3 separate regions of the Homo sapiens genome follow, and regions 1 and 2 are each linked to region 3. Evidence: promoter capture Hi-C in 16 types of primary human blood cells and fetal thymus (Javierre and others, 2016). All regions are on one chromosome and are shown on one strand. Each heading gives the region's core, a stretch centred on a gene start or on the middle of the fragment in contact. The rest is flanking DNA. Distances are from core to core; before and after follow the strand shown. Region 1 overlaps MORN5 (MORN repeat containing 5). Region 2 overlaps NDUFA8 (NADH:ubiquinone oxidoreductase subunit A8). Region 3 holds the start of PDCL (phosducin like).

The links. Contacts are between HindIII fragments. The CHiCAGO score rates a contact against its expected background, and 5 or more counts as called.
Region 1: a fragment that was not itself captured here is called in contact with the fragment with the promoter of PDCL in region 3 in 2 of 17 cell types (total CD8 T cells and total CD4 T cells); the score reaches 6.2 in total CD8 T cells.
Region 2: a fragment that was not itself captured here is called in contact with the fragment with the promoter of PDCL in region 3 in 1 of 17 cell types (naive B cells); the score reaches 5.2 in naive B cells.

Annotation. Positions count from the first base shown.
Region 1 is chr9:122,164,391-122,168,265 of GRCh38, forward strand. MORN5 (MORN repeat containing 5) reads left to right here. Exons shown (of 5, transcript NM_198469.4): 2 at 2,378-2,525. Among named protein-coding and RNA genes, the nearest start is that of MORN5, 6.4 kb to the left of the region's middle. The HindIII fragment of the contact is 1,291 bases long and covers 623-1,913 here.
Region 2 is chr9:122,143,422-122,147,218 of GRCh38, forward strand. It overlaps NDUFA8 (NADH:ubiquinone oxidoreductase subunit A8), which reads right to left. Exons shown (of 4, transcript NM_014222.3): 4 at 637-957. The coding sequence ends at 820. Among named protein-coding and RNA genes, the nearest start is that of NDUFA8, 14 kb to the right of the region's middle. The HindIII fragment of the contact is 1,481 bases long and covers 1,668-3,148 here.
Region 3 is chr9:122,826,653-122,830,321 of GRCh38, forward strand. PDCL (phosducin like) reads right to left here and starts at 1,936. Exons shown (of 4, transcript NM_005388.5): 1 at 1,819-1,936; 2 at 1-140. The coding sequence starts at 135. RefSeq lists an enhancer at 1,838-2,132. The HindIII fragment of the contact is 3,273 bases long and covers 372-3,644 here.

The DNA.
Region 1 (3,875 bases), core at 18-2,517, 660 kb before region 3:
GGAAAGAGAAAAATGTAGGAGAGGTTTGGGGATTTTACTGCCAGGAGTTGGCAGCTGATTGGCTCCAGTCCCGTCCAGAGATGGCTTACAGCCCCAGCCCTGGGCCCAGCTCCTGGCCTTGAACCAGAGGATTCTGATACCATTCATGGAAATAGAGAACTCTAAGGAGGTGCTGCTTAGGGGAGGAGGAGATGAGTTCTGTTTTAGGCGAGTTGGAGATGTCTGTGAGAGGTCTGAACAGTGATGTCCAGTTCAAGGTAAGAAAAGGGGTGGGGTCTAACCTCAGAGAAGGGTGTAGAACTTGAATATGGAGATGGTGCTTAGAAATGATAGATGTGAGCTCAAGCAAAGAGTACAGGAGGGAAGGAGAAGAGGAATTCTCCCTTCCCCCCATGTCTTGCACTAGAATAAAAGTGAAATAGTTTTCAATTTCTTGTTCTATGCCGGGCATTCTGCTATAGTTTCACAACCATCGTCTCACTCAGTTATCTCAACAACTTTGTCATCCACTCTGTTCACTGACTACTCTTTCTGTTTCCTTCATTCTTTACTCAGGAGACGTTTATGAAGCACCTGCTTAATGGTTCTAGGAGCTGAGGATACCAAAGTCTTCCTTTAAAGAAGCTTTTCTTAAATACAGGAGATAAGATACCTAATTACAAAACAAGATAGAAAGTGTTACACATCCCGACAGAGGTATTAGCAAAAGCCTAAAGAAGGTCAGAGTTAGGAGAGGAGCCTTCAGCTTGTTAGGAGGAATGGAGAAGGAATGAATGAAAGCATATTTATTAAGCACTCACTATATATATGTCAGGCCCTTTACTAGGAAAATCGTTATATGTTACCTGGATTAATTGCAGCCATTTCACCCATAAAGAAACTGGTCAGCCCAGTGCAGTGGCTCACACCTGTAATCCCAACATTTTGGGAGGCTGAGGCAGGAGGATCATTTGAGCCCAGAAGTTCTAGATCAGCCTGGGCAACATAGGGAAACCCCGTCTCTACAAAAAAAAAAAAAAAAAAAAAAAAATTAAATAAGCCAGGCGTGGTGGGGCACACCTGTGGTTCCAACTACTTGGGAGGCTGAGGTGGGAGGATCACTTGAGTTCAGGGGATTGAGGCTGCATTGAGCCATGATCACACAGCTGTACTGCAGCCTGGGAGACAGAACAAGATCTGGTCTTGGGAAAAAAACAAAAAACAAAACAAAGAAGCTAGTCAACTGGTCAAGCTGGTGTCCCTGCCTTGTTCTCCTGTATGAGCCTGTCTTCCTCCTGCATAGCACTTATCACACATTGTATAATTACTCAATTTTGTCCCCCACTAGACTGTGAGCCCCCCGAGGACAGGGACCGCATCTGCCTTGATCACTGTTGAATCTGTGTTGTATTCAGCAAGTTGGACCATCAGCATAGTCCCTGACAAAATGTAGGTGCTCTGTAAATACCTGTTTGGAAGGAAAGAAGGAAGGGAAGGAAGGGAGGGAGGCACAAGCAAAGAGGTTTGGGAAAGTATCTGTATTAGTCTGTTCTCATGCTGCTGTAAGGACATAACCAAAGACTGGGTAATCTATAAAGGAAAGAGGCTTAATGGACTCACAGTTCCACATGGCTGGGAAGGCCTCACGATCATGGTGGACGCAAAGGGGGAGCAAGGGCACATCTTACATGGCAGCAGGCAAGAGAGCATGTTCAGGGGAATTGCCCTTTATAAAACCATCAGATCTCATGAGACTTATTCACTATCATGAGAACAGCATGGGAAAAACCCACCCCCATGATTCAGTTACCTCCCACTGAGTCCCTCCCATGACATGTGGGGATTATGGGAGCTACAATTCCCGATGAGATTTGGGTGGGGACACAGCCAAACAATATTAGTATCCAAGATTATATATATATATAATGGTGGTAAGCTTCAAACCCTTACTCCTGTCTCTAAATTTCATATTTTCCCTAATATTCCACTTGTGGCATAATAGGCAAGGATGGGTTGGTCATGGGGGACAGAGAAATCACAGAACTAGCTGCCAGAAAACCTGGGCTCTAGTGTCCACAGTTTTTACTGTGTGTGGTTTTGGGCACATCTCTACGCTCTCTGGGCCTACTAGGGGGGTTTATTTCAGGGAGCAGTGTGAACTCCAAGGTGAGAGTGAGCCTCTAGGTGAAGGGGAGAATGAACAGAGCAAACTCTATTCCCCTCTTTTCGTTTTTGAGCTTTTGAGGGAAACAAAACAAAAATTTTGTTTTCAGCAGAGTACTGCTGGGATGAGAAGGATGAGAATGCTGAGAACGGGGTTCCTGCTCACTCTGTTGCCTGCCAGCTCTGATCCTCCAGCTGTCACACAGGGCTCAGTGATTTCCCTGTGTCTTTACAGGATGGAGGGCAAAGCCAAGTACATCCTCCCTACCGAAACAATATATGTTGGGGAAATGAAGGATGGCATGTTTCACGGCGAGGGAACCCTGTACTTCCCCAGCGGAAGCCAATACGACGCCATTTGGGAAAACGGATTGGCCATAAAGGTGATCAGCTGGGGGGACGGATGCTGTGGAGGAGAGATCCTCACGCAAGAAGAGCCTCACCCTCTGGCACCCCATCCTCCCTGTCTGGTGCCCACCTTGTTCCATTCACTCTTCTCTTTGCTTCTCCCCCACTCCCCCCACTTTTTTTTTTTTTTTTTAGTCTCACTCTGTCACCAGGCTGGAGTGCAGTGGCACAATCTCGGCTCACTGCAACCTCCGCCTCCTGGGTTCAAGCGAGTCTCCTGCCTCAGCCTCCCGAGTAGCTGGGACTACGGGCGTGCACCACCATGCCCAGCTAATTTTTGTATTTTTAGTAGAGATTGGGTTTCACCATGTTTGCCAGGATGGTCTCAGTCTCTTGACCTTGTGATCCACCCGCCTTGGCCTCCCAAAGTGCTGGGATTACAGGTGCGCAGGTGTGAGCCACCGCACCTGACCTTTTTTTTTTTTTTTTTTTTTGAAAACGAGTCTCTGTCGCCCAGGCTGGAGTGCAGTGGTGTGATCTCAGCTCACCACAACCTCTGCCTCCTGGGTTCAAGCTATTCTCTTGCCTAGGCCTCCTGAGTAGCTGGGATTACAGGTATGTGCCACCATGCCCGGCTAATTTCTCCCTGCTTCTGGATCTCCCAGGGCTCTAGAATCCTCTCCCTCTAGATCTGGAAGGATCTGTGGAGAGGCCATGATGAGTTTGCATCTGTTACACCACTTACTGCCTGATCTTAGGCCCACGACTTCACCTCCCTGAGAGTTCTTCACCTATCAACTCGGGACAGTTAGTTGCATTAGTTATGTGTTGGTACTATAACAGGTTACCACAAATTTAGTCTGAAATCAGCACAAATGTATTATCTTACAGTTCTAGAGCTCAAAAGTCTGAAATAAGTCAGCAAGCCTGCATTCCATCCAGAGGCTCTACGGGAAAACCTGTTTCCTTGCCTTTTCCAGCTTCTAGAGGCTGCCTGCATTCCTTGGCTCATGGCCACGCATCACTCCGACCTCTGCTTTCATCATCACGTCACCCTTCGTCCCTCTGCTTTCATCGTCATCTCTTCTTCTCTCACCCTGACCTTACTATTTCCCTCTCATAGGAACCTTGCAATCATATTTGGCACACCCAGATAATCCAAATAATCTTCCCACTTCAGGATCCTTCATTTAATTGCATCTGCAAAATCCCTCTTGCCATGTAAAGTAGCATATTCACAGGTTGCAGCAGACAGGGACATCTTTGGGGGACCATTATTCAGCCTACCACAATAGTACAAGGCACCTCAATATATATATGTGAACACTTTGCTAAGTTCCCAGCACACAAGAGGCACTCAATAAATGTTAGCTCTTATTACCACC
Region 2 (3,797 bases), core at 1,158-3,657, 680 kb before region 3:
TAAACACTTGTGGCTTTAACCTGCCCAGGAGGTAGATAAGCATGTGCCCTTTAGTTTGTCCTCAAACTCAACCTCTTGCAAGAGGTTAAGGAACACACCCAAGGTTGGAATTGACACTCAGACCTCCAGACTTCCTGGCTTTGGAGCTGGAAGTTCAGCCTCCACCTCCCTTGTCTATCAGGAAAAACATCTGGGTTATAATGCTTGAGGATGGGATATCAAGGGGAAGTGGTGGAAGTTCGGTTCTTCAAGAAACTTTGAGCAAGACTGCATGAGACCCTGCTAGGGGCCCCTCCCATTCCGAGTCATGCCTCAAAGAAGTTTCTGCACTTCTATCCTGGAGGCTCCCCTTGTATGACCTTTAGAGAAATCTATTTGCCTAAGACGTTGGATGGAAGGAAAGAGAGCTGAGACTTCAAAATGTGTGAACACAGACACACCCCAAGGAGCTGCCTAAAGTAACAAAGCCTTTCCTTCACATGGCCACTTCTGCCTGTTCTAACAGGGATCCCCAGCCACATGAGCGAGTGCCTAAAGCAAAGCAAGAGGAACAGGCAGGACCACAAGAAGAAAAAAGCAAGGGGAAGTCATCTTTAAAGGCCAAAAGGTCACATAAAACATAATAAAATACAACCGTTTCCTTTAAAAATTTTAATGGACAGGAAATGGTATAGAATAACTGCCAAGTCACATAAGTTAACTTTTTTGTTAATGTTTGTGATCCCGGAAAGAACACACTATCAGTCGATGCAAACCGCATGGGCGTTTTCATCAGTCGTTGTCTGAGCACATGACCGAGTGTGGGCCACGGACCCATCTTTACTTGGTCCAGAAATAAAAGCGGCTGCCATGTGTGGCAGGCTGCAGATCTCCCTCGATCTCAGGGCTGGGATCCGGTCTTGGTCTTGAGTGATAGGGATTCTCCGGTAAAGGTCGATCTGTTTTCACTTTGGTGACCTGGGAAGGGTGAAGAGGGCAAAAGCAAAGTTGAAAGCTAGGGTGGAGGAATCTGTAACCATCAATGCGCCTCCTGGTGTCTCCTCATTGCTCCCGCTGCTACAACTGCTCCCCGACTTAAATTCCCAGCAAATCACATTCAGACGTATTTAATCATTGAACAAACACTCAGGAAAGCCTACTTTATGTCATTCCATGTGGTAGAAACTAGGGATACAGAAGGGAACAAGATACTGTCCTCAAGGGGATCACAGTCTAGTGAGGGAGAAAGCCAGGAATAACAACCAAGATTTCCAAATCACCCTGATGGCTAATGGCAATGATGGAGACAGGAACTGCCTCTATAGGAGCAAGGACTGTGCACATCTAACCCATCCTGAAGGCTGGGGGTCTGGAATATTTTTAAGGAGGTAAGACTTAGCTTAAAGTCTGAGCAGGAGCCAGTCAGAAAGGCAAGGGAGGAAAAGACATTCCAAGGAAAGACTACATATGAAGATAGGCAGGCATGTCTTCAGAATGGCTGAATCAAAGGCTGCATGAAGAATGGAGGGAGATGAAGCATCTCACCAAGAACTTATTGCTAGAAATGATGCTGAGCACATGATTCCATTCCATTTTCACTCTTAGGAGGTCATTCTGCAGGGGCTCACTGAGGCCACCTAGCTAATAGTGGAAGAAATTGTACACAAAGCCAGATATGCCTACTCCAAAGCTTGTGCTTCTTAATACCACACTACAGTGGTGGACAGGCCAGATGATAAAGGGTATTAAATGATATGCAAAGGTGTTTGCGTTTTAACCTGACGGTTAACAGGTGCCACTGAAGCACGGCAGTAACTAAATCCCATCTCTGTAGGCTGGGAAGTGTGAAAGCTAAAGTGGAGAGAGGCAAGACCCAAATTGGGGAGCTGAGCCAATAAGCCAGGAGAGTGGTGAAGTACTAAACTGCAACAGGGAGAGAGATAATTTACACTCACAGTATCCCCTGATGGTCACAAAAATCTCAACTGGAAAGCCAGCAGAAACTGCTGTCATTTTAAAGATAAAGAAATAGGCCCAGAGAAGTAAGAAGACATAAGGCCACAGCTGTCAGCAGTCTTCTGATTATTCTTCTACTGGGCTGAACTCTTAAGTCACCTCATGTAAAATGACCAGATTCATCTTCCTAGATGTATAAATTCAGAAACCTTTTATTGGGAACAGAGCTTTTGTGTATACAATCACCCAATTATTATTATAACCACCTTATGAGGCATTATTATCTCTAGTGCACAGATGAAGACCAGGGAGGTTGGCATGCCTAAGATAAGATACACACTAATGTCAGAGCTAAAGCTGGAACCTAAGTCTTCAAGTCTACTAGTTTCGTTTGTTTGCTTTTGAAAGTTATCCCACCGCCCTGTCATAAGTACAGATGGTTCCTAATGATCCACTAGTGGTTCCTTGGTATTTGCAGCTCCTTTAAGGAATTAAAGACATTTATGAAATTGGCTGGGCACAGTGGCTCATGCCTGTAATCCCCGCACTCTGGGAGGCTGAGGCAGGTGGATCACTTGAGGTCAGAGTTCAAGACCAGCCCAGGCAACATGGTGAAACCCCTTCTCTACTAAAAATACAAAATTTAGCTGGCCATGGTGGCGGGTGCCTGTAATCCCAGCTACTCAAGAGGCTGAGGCAGAATTGCTTGAACCCGGAAGGCACTGGTTGCAGTGAGCAGAGATCGTGGCACTGTACTCCAGCCTGGGTGACAGAGTGAGACTCCACTTCAAAAAGAAAAACAAAAAAAATGTTGCCCAGGCTAGTCCTGAACTCGTGAGCTCAAGCGATCCTCCTGCCTCAGCCTCCCAAAGTGCTAGAATTGCAGGTGTGAGCCATGGCACCTGATCGAGAAATACACTTTTGAAAAGAGTTAAGAGAATTTTTTTTTTATCTCACAGAGTTTTAAAAAATGTTAATACAAAGATTCAAGAATAAATATGCTTTCTTACTAGCATGACTTGTTATTTCTTCTTTCATAAGTCAGAAATGAGAAAAGGTAGTTTTATTTGTTACATGTATAAGTTCTACCACTTTCCAATCTAGAATTATCAACTATTTAAAATAATATGTTCAGTACATCAAAAAGTATCTGAAAATAATCAAGCCAGATATAAAAGACAAAAAAATTGCTAAGTTATTACTCATGACACCAAGCTTATAATCCAACCATTCACAGATGCTATACACAAAGAGAAGGGAACTAGACCGGGTATGGTGACCTGTAATCCCATCACACTGGGAGGCTAAGGTGGGAGGACTGCTTGAGCTCAGGATCTCAAGACCAGACTGGGTAATATAGCAAAATCCTGTCTCTACTAAAATACAAAAATTAGTTGGGCATGGTGGCCTGTGCCTGTAGTCCCAGCTACTTGGGAGGCTGAGGTGGGAGAATCACCTGTGCCCAGGAAGTCAAGGCTGCAGTGAGCTGTGATCGCACCACTGCATTCCAGCCTAGGAGAGAGAGTAAGACCTGAGTTTTTTCCTCCATGCCTTGCTACCTGTGCTGCTCCACAGGGAACAGAGGGAGCTGAGGCTGAAGAAGCAGGGATGGGTCAGATCATAAAGGGCCTGCATGCCATGTTATGGAGAAGATGCTTTATCTCACCAGCAATGGAGAGTCCCCGTACAGTTTTTAAAAACACAGTGACATAAGATTTGTTTTCCACACAGATCACTCTTCTTGTGGAGGTGTAATTTAATCCTCAATTCTTCAATTTCATCTAAAGCCCACATTGATCCACCCTCCTCTCCCAGAAATTCATGTACCCCAGGTTAAGAACTCCTGTCCAAGAATAAGATAA
Region 3 (3,669 bases), core at 686-3,185:
CTCTGCAGGCACAGAACTGCTGGCTGGGGCACATCTGCCTCGGTCCTTGTCCTCGTGGTCACTGTCCTCATCCTCACTGCTGCTATAGTAGTACTGCAGTTTCTCCCCCAGCAACTTATCATCAAGGGTGGTCATGGTGTCTGGAAAAAGAAAGCATATCAGGTTCTTTGCTGATTTGAGCCAGACAGACATGAATCTGAAGCATAGGGGGCTCGCCTGTGCTGAGATCCTACAATTTCCAGGACACTAAAGTGATTATTTTCATAACCAAAATCTTAACAAATCCCTACCGTTACCCTGTGTGTTAGGGCTTATCACACTCTTTAACAGAAGGTAAAACTGAAGCTCAGATAAAGGAAGAGTCTTCACCAAGCTTAACAGCGAATGACGGAGCTGGGACCAGACCCCAGGGATTCCTGACTCCAAGAGCCTGAGGTATAAATTACTCTAGTCTGAGTTAAGTGTACAAGCCACCTGCACTGGCTTGGAGGAATCTACTGACTAGTGGTTTTATCTGTGCTTTTAGTTTTCCCACCAGCTAAGACTGCTGCCTAATTGAAAAATTGTTTAAGTATCCTCAGGAAAAACCCCAAAAAGAGGCATCAAGAGTACAATGCTGAGTCACTATTTGTCTAGGCAATCACTCTCTGTCACCAGCCTTCAACTTCCCAGACAACACCCTGAGGGCTTGGATGGATGGTCTCTGAAACGCTACCTATTCTGACAGTTTAAAAGAAGGGCCCATACAAAGATTTTAATAACTCCCAAGGGTTTAAAGGACTATGATGGCCGGGCTCGCGCAGGTAATCCCAGCACTTAGGGAGGCCGAGGAGGGAGGATCACTTGAGACCAGGTATTCGAGACCAGCCTGGCTAACATGGCGAAACTCTTGTCTCTACTAGTAAAAGCAAACAAACAAACAAACAAAAATTAGCCAGGTGTGGTGGCGGGTGTCTGTTTTCCCAGCTACTCAGGAGGCTGAGGCACGAGAATCTCTTGAATCCGGGAGGCGGAGGTTGCAGTGAGCCAAGATCACGCCACTGCACTCCAGCCTGGGAGACAGAGCGAGACTCTGTTTCAAAAAAAAATAAAAACTAAAAATATAAAGGACCAGGCTTCTGCATCAGAAGTAGCCAAGGGCATTCTGATGAAAAGATGCAGCTTAGCCCCCAGAGGCCTGCTTGAGAATTCAGCAGGAATGCGGCTGCCTTAAAGACTTATCACCGGGCCTATCATACTCCATTTACAAAGTGACTCTCTCCCACCGGGCAAGGAGTTCTTGAACGTAGGGACCTCTAGTCACTACCTCTATCCCCAAAGCCCAGCACAATGCCGCTGCACAATTTGCTAAACTCGCAGCCTGGGTCAACGGGAGAATCGGAGGACTCCAGCAGTCAGATGCAAAGGAGACAGGGATCATGGAGAGACAGGTGGAGGTGCCAAGAAGGAACAAAACCAAACTTAAGGCCCAGGAATGGGCCAAGCGGGGGACACAGCAGCGGCGGAGGGGAGGGAAGGAGTTGCGCTCCTAAAGGAGGGACCGCTGCGGGGAGGAGACGAGGGCGGGCCCCCTGGAGACGCGAGCAGAGGAGGCGGGGCCCCCGGACGGGAAGCAGAGGGGTGTGTGGAGCTTTTGGGGGAAGGCTGGAAGGGCCCGGGGGAGGTGGGGCCAGAGGAGGAAAGGGGACGAGGAAGACGCGGAGAACTTGGGGGTCGAGACAGAGCGAAGAAGGGGCAGTTTTACCCAAGCTCGCCAACCCCACTCCCTCCCGTAGTCCGCAGCTGCTGCCGCTTCCCGGTGGACCCCAATGCAGTTACCTGCCCTAGCTCGCTCCGGATCCCTTTGGGCCAGCAGCTCCGGGCGCCGGAAGGAATGGAGCACTTTCTTAAGAGGAAGAGCAGTGGGTCAGCGCCCTGAGCGCTAAAGAGAAAAGCCGCCGAAGCCCGACAGCGCGGACCAATGAGGCGGCCTTCCTGCGTCGTGGCGGACGCGCATTGTCCAATCAGAAGCCGCTACTCCCAGCTGAGGGGCAGGGGAGAAGCTACGGGTCCTACCTTGGAACAAAACACCTCGACAACAACGCTCTCCTAATTGCTTTGTTTTGGTTTTAATCTGCACAACAAAAAAGTGAATTGTATGACCCAGCGTCAAGCAATAAGAAAAATGTATTCACAGGCCGGGCGCGGTGGCTCACGCCTGTAATGCCAGCACTTTAGGAGGCCGAGGCGGGCGGATCACTTAAGGTCATGAGTTCAAGACCAGCCTGGCCAACACGTTGAAAACCCGTCTCTACTAAAAATACAGAAATTAGCCGGGCCTGGTGGCCGACGCCTGTAATCCAAGCTACTCGGGAGGCTGAGGCAGGAGAATCGCTTAAACCCAGGAGGCAGAAGTTGAAGTGGGCCGAGATCGCGCCACTGCACCCCAGCCTGGGCGACAGAGCGAGACTGTCTCAAAAAAAAAGAAAGAAAGAAAAGAAAAATGTATTCACTTCCCTTCGAAGTTTCCGAAGCCATTCAAAGTGTGTTTTTTATTGGTTCTTCATCGCATCACGTCTATTAGACGGAAAAGTGACTCAGAGACGTTCGGTAATTTGCCCGAGAGCACAAATCCCTCAAGTACAGGGCATAGATTAAAATATATATATATATTTTTTTGACGGAGTTTCGCTCTTCTTGCCCAGGCTGGAGTGCAGTGACGCGATCTCGGCTCACTGCAACCTCCGCCTCCCGGGTTCAAGAGATTCTCCTGCCTCAGCCTCCAGAGTAGCTGGGATTACAGGCGTCCGCCAGCAGACCCGGCTAATTTTTTCTATTTTTAGTAGAGACGGGGTTTCACCATTTTAAAGAAGCGGCAGCCAGGAGTGGTGGCGCGCGCCTGTAGTCCCAGCTACGCAGGAGGCTGAGGCGGGAGGATCGCTCAGCCCAGGACTTGGAGGCCAGCCTGGGTGACAGAGCAGGAATGTAATGTGAAATCCGGAATTGGCTCCTGGTATAGAAAAAGGACATGGGGCCGGGTGCGGTGGTTCACTCCTGTAATCCCAGCACTTTGGGAGGCCGAGGCGGGCAGATCACCTGAGGTCAGGAGTTCGAGACCAGCCTGGCCAACATGGCGAAACCCCGTCTTTACTAAAAATACAAAAATTAGCCGGGCATGGTGGTGCACACTTGTAATCCCAGCTACTCGGAGGCTGAGGCAGGAGAATCGCTTGAACCCGGGAGGCGGAGGTTGCAGACAGCTGAGATCGCACCACTGCACTCCAGCTTGGGGGTCAAGACTGAGACTCCGTCTCAAAAAAGAAAAATAAAAAGGACATGAATGGGACAACTGACGAAATTTGAATAAGGCCTATTAATTCATATTAGTAGTATTGTATCAATAGTTTTAATAATTATACTATGTAAGATGTGAACTTTTGGAGATTCTATTAGATGAAGAATCTAGGGAAGCACTATCCTATTTTTGCAACTTTGTTTTCTTCTTCCAGGGTAAAGCCATACTATGATATTTTGCAACTTTTTTTTCTTTTTCCTCAGGCATACTTTGTCGTCTGTTTTTGCAACTTTTTTAAAACCTAAAATGATTTCAAATTCTGAGCCCTTGTTGAAGTATCCAATACACAACCGTGAAGTTGCTCATAGAAAGCTTTGGGTAAATTGAATCATAGA